2 separate regions of the Homo sapiens genome follow, and region 2 is linked to region 1. The links are contacts of gene promoters, found by promoter capture Hi-C in blood cells and fetal thymus (Javierre and others, 2016). All regions are on one chromosome and are shown on one strand. Each heading gives the region's core, a stretch centred on a gene start or on the middle of the fragment in contact. The rest is flanking DNA. Distances are from core to core; before and after follow the strand shown.

Evidence for each region. The method cuts DNA at HindIII sites, captures the fragments that hold promoters and counts their contacts. A CHiCAGO score of 5 or more calls a contact.
Region 2: a contact is called between a fragment that was not itself captured here and the fragment with the promoter of CTLA4 in region 1, in 1 of 17 cell types (total CD4 T cells). The highest score is 5.3, in total CD4 T cells.

What each region holds. Positions count from the first base shown.
Region 1 is chr2:203,865,438-203,869,200 of GRCh38, reverse strand. It overlaps CTLA4 (cytotoxic T-lymphocyte associated protein 4), which reads right to left and starts at 1,430. Exons shown (of 4, transcript NM_005214.5): 1 at 1,150-1,430. The coding sequence starts at 1,258. The HindIII fragment of the contact is 240 bases long and covers 1,324-1,563 here.
Region 2 is chr2:203,722,099-203,725,957 of GRCh38, reverse strand. All of the region lies in intron 1 of CD28 (CD28 molecule), which reads right to left. Among named protein-coding and RNA genes, the nearest start is that of CD28, 17 kb to the right of the region's middle. The HindIII fragment of the contact is 8,566 bases long and covers 1-3,859 here.

The sequences.
Region 1 (3,763 bases), core at 181-2,680:
GATTATAGCCCACCCAAGTGAGCACTCAATAATCTTTATTGTATTGACTCTAAGCTTAAGAAATCCTAAATGTCCTGCCCTCTCCCCAAGCAAGCTCACACTCATCACCACTAAATGCGGTCACACTCAACTTTCCAGTATTGGGAGGGTCCTGTTACTGGTTGAGATAAATTTACTTTAGGAAATTTAAATACTTCTAAGAGTGTTTATTTAATCTTTACATATTTAAAACATGTAAAAATAAGAAAACATATATGAATATTTCTTCTCCAGTAAAAATTAAATCATCAAATATCTTTTGAGTACCTACTTCATACAAACTACATGGTTTCTTAACCAAGAAGGTCTAGAGAGAGATAAGGTTGAGATTCAATGGATATACTCATCATTTTAAGCCGTGTAACAAACCTGGTGTCAGTCTCTGAAGAGCTGAAAACTGAGGATCTGCATCTGAAACCCACACGTAGGTCAGGCAACAATTAAGTATTGTATGCCAAACAGACTGGTGGCTTTCTTTCTTTCCTTTTCCTTGTCTTTTTTTTTTGGCAATTTCAAACTTTTATTTTTAAATAATTGGCTAATTAGCTAGTAGAATTGATTAAGAGAACCTTAAAACCTTGAATTAAGTAAAGAAGGCATTCTTCCCACAATTTCCCTACATTTTAAACAAGCTGGCTAATTCATTTATAAAGTATATGAATCCGAGGACCTTAAAACCTTGAATTGTATAGCAAAAAAACTCTTCCCAGGATTTGCTTAAGTCAATTTTTTTTAAAGGAACTTGTGAGCTCATCCTGAAACCCAGCTCAAATGTATTCAGGACTATGGCTATCCTTTCCCTCTTAAATCACTTCCAGTCTCATAGAAGGGTCTGAAATTGCCTGTGTCTCTCTACTAAACCAACTCACATGCATTCATGAAGCCCCTACTAAATACCTGGCGCTCTGTTCTGAGCTATCTCTTTGCCTTATTTGCTGCCGCCCAACTGCTCCCTGCTGGCCCTGGAATACAGAGCCAGCCAAGCCAGATTGGAGTTTTACCTTTAACTTCTGGCTTTGCTATAAATCACTGCCTTTGACTGCTGAAACAAATGAAACCCAGGTAGGAGAAACACCTCCTCCATCTTCATGCTCCAAAAGTCTCACTCACCTTTGCAGAAGACAGGGATGAAGAGAAGAAAAAACAGGAGAGTGCAGGGCCAGGTCCTGGTAGCCAGGTTCAGCTGAGCCTTGTGCCGCTGAAATCCAAGGCAAGCCATGGCTTTATGGGAGCGGTGTTCAGGTCTTCAGGAAGTAGAGCAAAACCTTTCAGGATCCTGAAGCTTTGAAATGTGTTTGAACCCACACAGAATCAAGGACTTTATATAGATAGCTTTGATCCCAGATATGTATTACACATGTGCACACACAGAAGGCACTTGAATAGAAAGCCTTTTTGTTTTGGTTTTACGAGAAAGGAAGCCGTGGGTTTAGCTGTTACGTCGAAAAGACAACCTCAAGCACTCAACTGAACAAAACAAGCCAATCCATGGATGGAAAATGTATTCAATTTGAAACTGAAGCTTCATGTTCACTTTGAGGATCTGGATAACTAAGTGGAGACTTGGAGAATTTCCTGGAGTACAAGGGTCCTCCTAAATCCCAATTTTATTCAATCTTCTGGGCATCCTTAACCATCCAGTCCAATTCATTTCATTGACAACTCCAAAACTACTAGGCTGCTAACTTTCTGAGCCCTTGGGCTAATGGCAGGATTTGTCTAGGCATCATTAATAAAAACTGTATTCTATCTGTGAAGCACCATCCTTCTAATGGTCCCTTGACAGCTTTACAAATAAGTTTATTTCTCCTAAATCCATTTAGCATTTGGTTAAGAGAAAAAAACTAAAATCACAAGAAATAAACTGAAAATAGGCGGAAAAGAAGCTGCCTCTGGTTTTGCAGAAGGAAAGAATTCAGGTGTTCTTAAAAGCCTTAACTCAACAGAGACAAAACAGAGTTGAAGAAGGTCCAAAGAAAAGCCAACCCAAATGATTCAAGAGATTAGAGCCGTCCATAAAAGGATAGACTTTTTTTTCTAATACAAATTTTTCAAGCAGAAAATTCAAAAGTGAAGATTAAATATAACCAGAGTCCTTAAATTTGTGACAGCTGTAGACAGGACCAATGATCTAACAAAAAGAATTTGAAACATTGAGGACCTTCCTTAAATCTGGAGAGTTTTCATACATTTTAATAAAGAAAGAAACATTCATGGGGAACCTGTAATATGCCCGGAATTCTGTGCACTTAGGATTGAATGATGACAAAACAAAAACATAGTTGATACCTTAAGGGGCTTCTAGAAGGCTGACATGCAAACAGACAGTTGTAACAGGGAATATGACATTTGCCTACTCCAGTCCGTCCATGGTTTCCCATTGTCCACACCTCAGCACAGCAGAGGAGACTCTGCAGAATACTCACCAAATGCCTCCCTCTTTGGCCTGTACCCCAGCATTCCCTCCCATTCCCCCTTCCTGCATTTGTCTTTCCTTCCACGTGCCTCTTTCAGGCCTCATCACCTTTACCCATGCTGTTCCTACTGCCTTTTTTCTCCTATTATCTTATTTTATACTCCTTCTCATCCTCCAGGACTTAGCTCAGCTGTCATCTCCTCCAGGAAGCCTCTTCTTTTTTTTTTTAAAATTTTATTATTATTATACTTTAAGTTTTAGGGTACATGTGCACAACATGCAGATTTGTTACATATGTATACATGTGCCATGTTGGTGTGATGCACAGAAGCCTTTTCTGACCTGCCTGTTTTCTATACACTGCTACACATTATAGAAACCTTCAAGCCCCAGCTCAAGCGCCAACAAGCAATAACAACCTAATGGGCACTTCCTAATGCCAGACTGGGCAACAGAGGTTTTTTAAAAAGTGAAAAACAAATGTTCCTGCCCTCAAGAGGAACACACAGCAGTGGCAGGGACAGACAGCTAAACCCATGATCATGATAGAGTGAGATCAATGCTGGAATTGAAGTATTATGTAGAGGAGCAGAAGCCAGTGGTTCAGCCTGTGGAAGTCAGAAAGGGCTTCTCAGAAGACGAAAAGCCTGAACTTATTATTGAGAACAGAGAAAAGGGTGGATATTCAGACAAGAAGAATAACATGGGCTAAAGTTGGAAACGGCATGAAGAGTTCATTATGGTCACAGGACAAAGCTTGTCTGGGGATGAGCAGAAGGTGCAAGCGGATGCTCTTAGCAGCAAGGGCCAATGAAACATAAGGAGCAAACTGGTATGACTGAGTTCACATTTGGGGGAAATTTTAGGGATGGGGAGGATGGGTTCAGGGAGAAATGTAACCAGGAAGACTGGGAAGAAGACTATTGGAATACGCCAGGCACCAGGATTTGGAAAGCTTTCTGAAGGGGGCAAAATAGTAAATATGTTATGATTTGCAAACGGTGGGGTCTCTGTTGCCACTACTCAACTCTGTCATTTTAGAATGAAAGAAGCCATATATTATATGTAAACAAATGGGTGTGTGTGCATTCCAATAAAACTTCATTTACGAAAATAGGTGAAGTCTGGATTTGGCCTGTGGGCCATGGTTTGCCAACCCCTGGTCTAAACTAAGGTAATGACAGCTGTGAAGACGAGGTCCCTATGGGACTAGTCCACAATCAGTGAGTGGAAGGAGAAGTTTAGAATGAATGACACCAGAATTATGGTTTGAGAAGTACTGTGGTGCTGCAGAAATTATTCAAATGT
Region 2 (3,859 bases), core at 416-2,915, 140 kb after region 1:
GGATTACAAGCATGAGCCACCATGCCCAACCTACAAATAGATTTGTTTTTAAGTTGTGATACAGGTTTTTGTAAAGGAATTAAAATATTTTGAAACATTTTTACTTTGTTTATTGCCCATTGCAAGAGTGGGATGAAGAGATAAGAAAAAATATAACCCAAGAGTTTGCTTTAATGTGTTTTCTGCACCAAATTCAGAGAATAGCCTCCCCAAGAAATTCATAGATCTATTCCCTTATATCATGAAAGGTGAAAGACTCCAGAGGGGAGTTATCTCTCTGGTCCATCATCTACCTTTACTGCTATCCCAATAAAAGATCAAAGAATCTGGAGAGCATTTAGTTCAATCTTTAAAAGCAAAGAACCTGAAACTAGTTTATCAACTCCATAAGTGAAGAGAACACATTGATCTCATTTCCCATGGTATCCTCATTGTTGGCACAGGACAATATTATTTCTTTTTTTTTTTCTTTTCTAATGATTGTATAAGGCCTAGAAACATTAGCTGGTTTGTCTGAAGTCACCAAACAAATGGTGAGCAAAGCCAGAACTAAAACCCAAGTTGGCTATGACCACCTGAGAAATAGACCACTGAAGCACTGAGAAACTGGGAATCAACTTTGCAACCAAGACACCTTCCAAAATTTTTCTTTTTTTTTTTTTTTCTGGAGACGGAGTTTCGCTCTTGTTGCCCAGGCTGGAGTGCAATGGTGCGATCTCAGCTGACTGCAACCTCCGCCCTCTGGGTTCAGGTGATTCTCCTGCCTCAGCCTCCCGAGTAGCTGGGATTAACAGGTATGCACCACCATGCCCGGCTAATTTTCTATTTTTAGTAGAGACGGGGTTTCTCCATGTTGGTCAGGCTTGTCTCGAACTCCCAACCTCAGGTGATCCACCGCCTCGGCCTCCCAAAGTGCTGGGATTACAGGTGTGAGCCACTGCGCCTGGCCCTCAAGAATTTTTCTAAAACAACAAACCACTTTGTGTCTTTGATTCAAATTTCAATGCAAACAAAAGCATTTTTTTGCTCTTGTTTTGGGGTATGTTAATAATTATTTACCTACTTGCATTTCTTTTAAGTTTATTTGAAGCAACATCCCGTATACCCACACTGAAGAGCCAAATAAAATCAGATTCATTTTTAAATGAAATTTACAATTTAACTGAATTTGAATTCATATACACAGGTGTTTTGTTTTGGTTTTGGTAAGAAGGAAATGGCATAGAACTAAATTAATAGTAGCTTTTTGTCTCCTATATAATCAATAATGCTGGCTGGGGATGATGGCTCACACCTTTGTGATCCTAGCACTTTGGGAGGCCAAGGCGGGATGAATGCTTGAGCCCAGGAGTTCAAGACCAGCCTGGGCAACATAGAAAGAACCCATCTCTACAAAATTCTTTTTAAAAAATCATTGCTGGCTTTATATCAAGAACTTTAAAATGAAAAAATATCTGTGCCCAAGTCCTCCCACTTCCGGAAATTCTGATTTAATTGGTCTAGGCTGGGGGGAAGGATTGATACTAAGTTTTTTTTCTTTATTTTAGATAATAACTTTATTGAGATATAATTCAGGTACTATAAAGTTTGCTGTTTTAAAGTGTAAAATTCAGAGATTTTTTAGTATATTCACAAAGTTATGAATGAATCACCACTATCTGATTCCAGAACATTTTCATTACTCCATAAAGAAATACCATACCCATTTACCATCACCCTGCTTCCTCCCTCCCTTAAATCCCTGGAAACCACTGATCTACTTTGGCCCTATGAATTTGCCTATTCTGGACTTTTTTTATAAGTAGAATCATACGATATGTGGCTTTTTGTGTCTCGTTTCTTTCACTTAGCATAATGTTTTCAAGTTTCATCCATGTTTCAAGTTTCATCCATGTTGTTGCATGCACCAGAACTTCACTCTTCATGGCCAAATAATATTCCATTGTATGGCTATACTACATTTTGTTTTTCTATTCATCACTTTTTGGCTATTATGAATAATGCTACTATGAGCATTTGCATACAGATTTTTGTGTGGACGTATGTTTTCAACTCTCTTAGGTATTTGCCAGCAGTAAAATTGCTGGGTCATATGGTAACTCTATGTTTAACTTTTTGAGGAATCGTCAAACTGTTGCCAAAGCAACTGCACCATTGTACATTCTCACCAGCAGTGAATGAGGGCTCCAATTTATCCTCACCCTTGCCGACACTTGTTATTGTTCATCTTTTCTATTATAGCCATCCTGGTGGACGTGAAGTGATATCTCATCATGGTTTGATTTGCTATTTCTCTAATAACTAATGATGCTAAGCATCTTTTCATGTGCTTATTAGCCATTGGTCTATTCTTTTTAGAGAACTCTCTATTCAGATCATTTGCCCATTTATTAACTGGTTAGGCTATTTATCTTTTTATTATTGAATTATTGGAGTTCTGTATGCATTTTTTATACTTTTTTTTTTTTATTTTTACAGAGTCTCACTCTGTCACCCAGGCTGGAGTGCAGTGGCATGATCTTGGCTCACTGCAGCCTCTGCCACCCAGAATCAAGCAATCCTCCTGCCTCAGCCTCCCGAGTAGCTGGAATTGGAGGTGACCACCACCACCCCCAGCTAATTTTTATATTTTTAGTAGAGATGGGGTTTCTCCATGTGGGCCAGGCTGGTCTCAAACTCCTGACCTCAGATGATCTGCCTGCCTCAGCCTTGATACAAGTTTCTTATCAGATATGTGATTTGTAAATGTTTTCTCTCATTCTGTGGATTGTCTTTCATATTATCTTAAAAGTTCCCCCACTTGATTCTAATATTCAATTGGGTTGAAAGCCACTATGGCCTAGTGGAATTCACCTGACAACATATTTAGAATCACCTGGAAAAATCTAAAAGCCTTTGGTTTTCCAAGGCCAATTAAATCAGAATCTCTAGGTATAGGACCCAGGCATCCATTCATATTTTTTAAGTTTCTCTAGTAATTCTAGATGGCAGTCAAATTTGAGAACCAGTGGCCTAACAGAGGAAAACTAACTTCTTATCCTCAAATCGGCCTCCACAGGTTTTTCCAACCTCATTTCCTCAAACCGAAGCCCTCCTAATTAGACCATTTAAGCCAACATCCCAAGAACAGACTGTGAGCATTCCTACCTCCATGCCTTGTCTACTAACTCCTTGGCACAGAGCACCACTCCCTTCTCAGGTCTCAAAATGATTACTATCTGTATCGCTCACTTGACATTTGAGTTCTACCTTTTAAACAACTCTTGTTTCACATGCTTCAATTTGCTTAGCTTTGGATTCATGTGCATTTCCCTTAGGCCCCTGGTTTCCAAGTCTCTTGACAGAAAGGACCACATGTTATGCTTCTTTACATAACACAGTATGACTAATAGACTCTCATAAAATAATTGTGGAGTGAAAGATGGTGATTCGGCTGTATTGTTGTTATCAGCAGCTAGGTTTGACTACCATCTCATTAAATCCTTTTTGGAAACCTGTGTCAACAACTTTAACTTCACCTATTATTTGTTCCACAAATATTTTGCAAAAGCACTGAAAAATAAACATGCAAAGAATCAAAAAGTTCGACCTGTCTTAATACAAACATCCAATTTGTTTTTTTGTTTTTGATTTATTTTGTTTGTTTCCTTTTTTTACTTAGAAGGAGTCATTAGGTCAGTTCTAATTGGAAGAGCAACCAACTCCAGCAAGCAATGCCTGCATCTCTCCTCCTTTTCAGAGAGTGAGTGCAGGTTAGGCATTTGTATTCTGCTTGCTCACCGCCCTGGGAATTGTGTTTCTATTGCTAATTATTTGGATTCTGTTTTAATGCACATTCAAATTCTTCCTGATCTGCCTT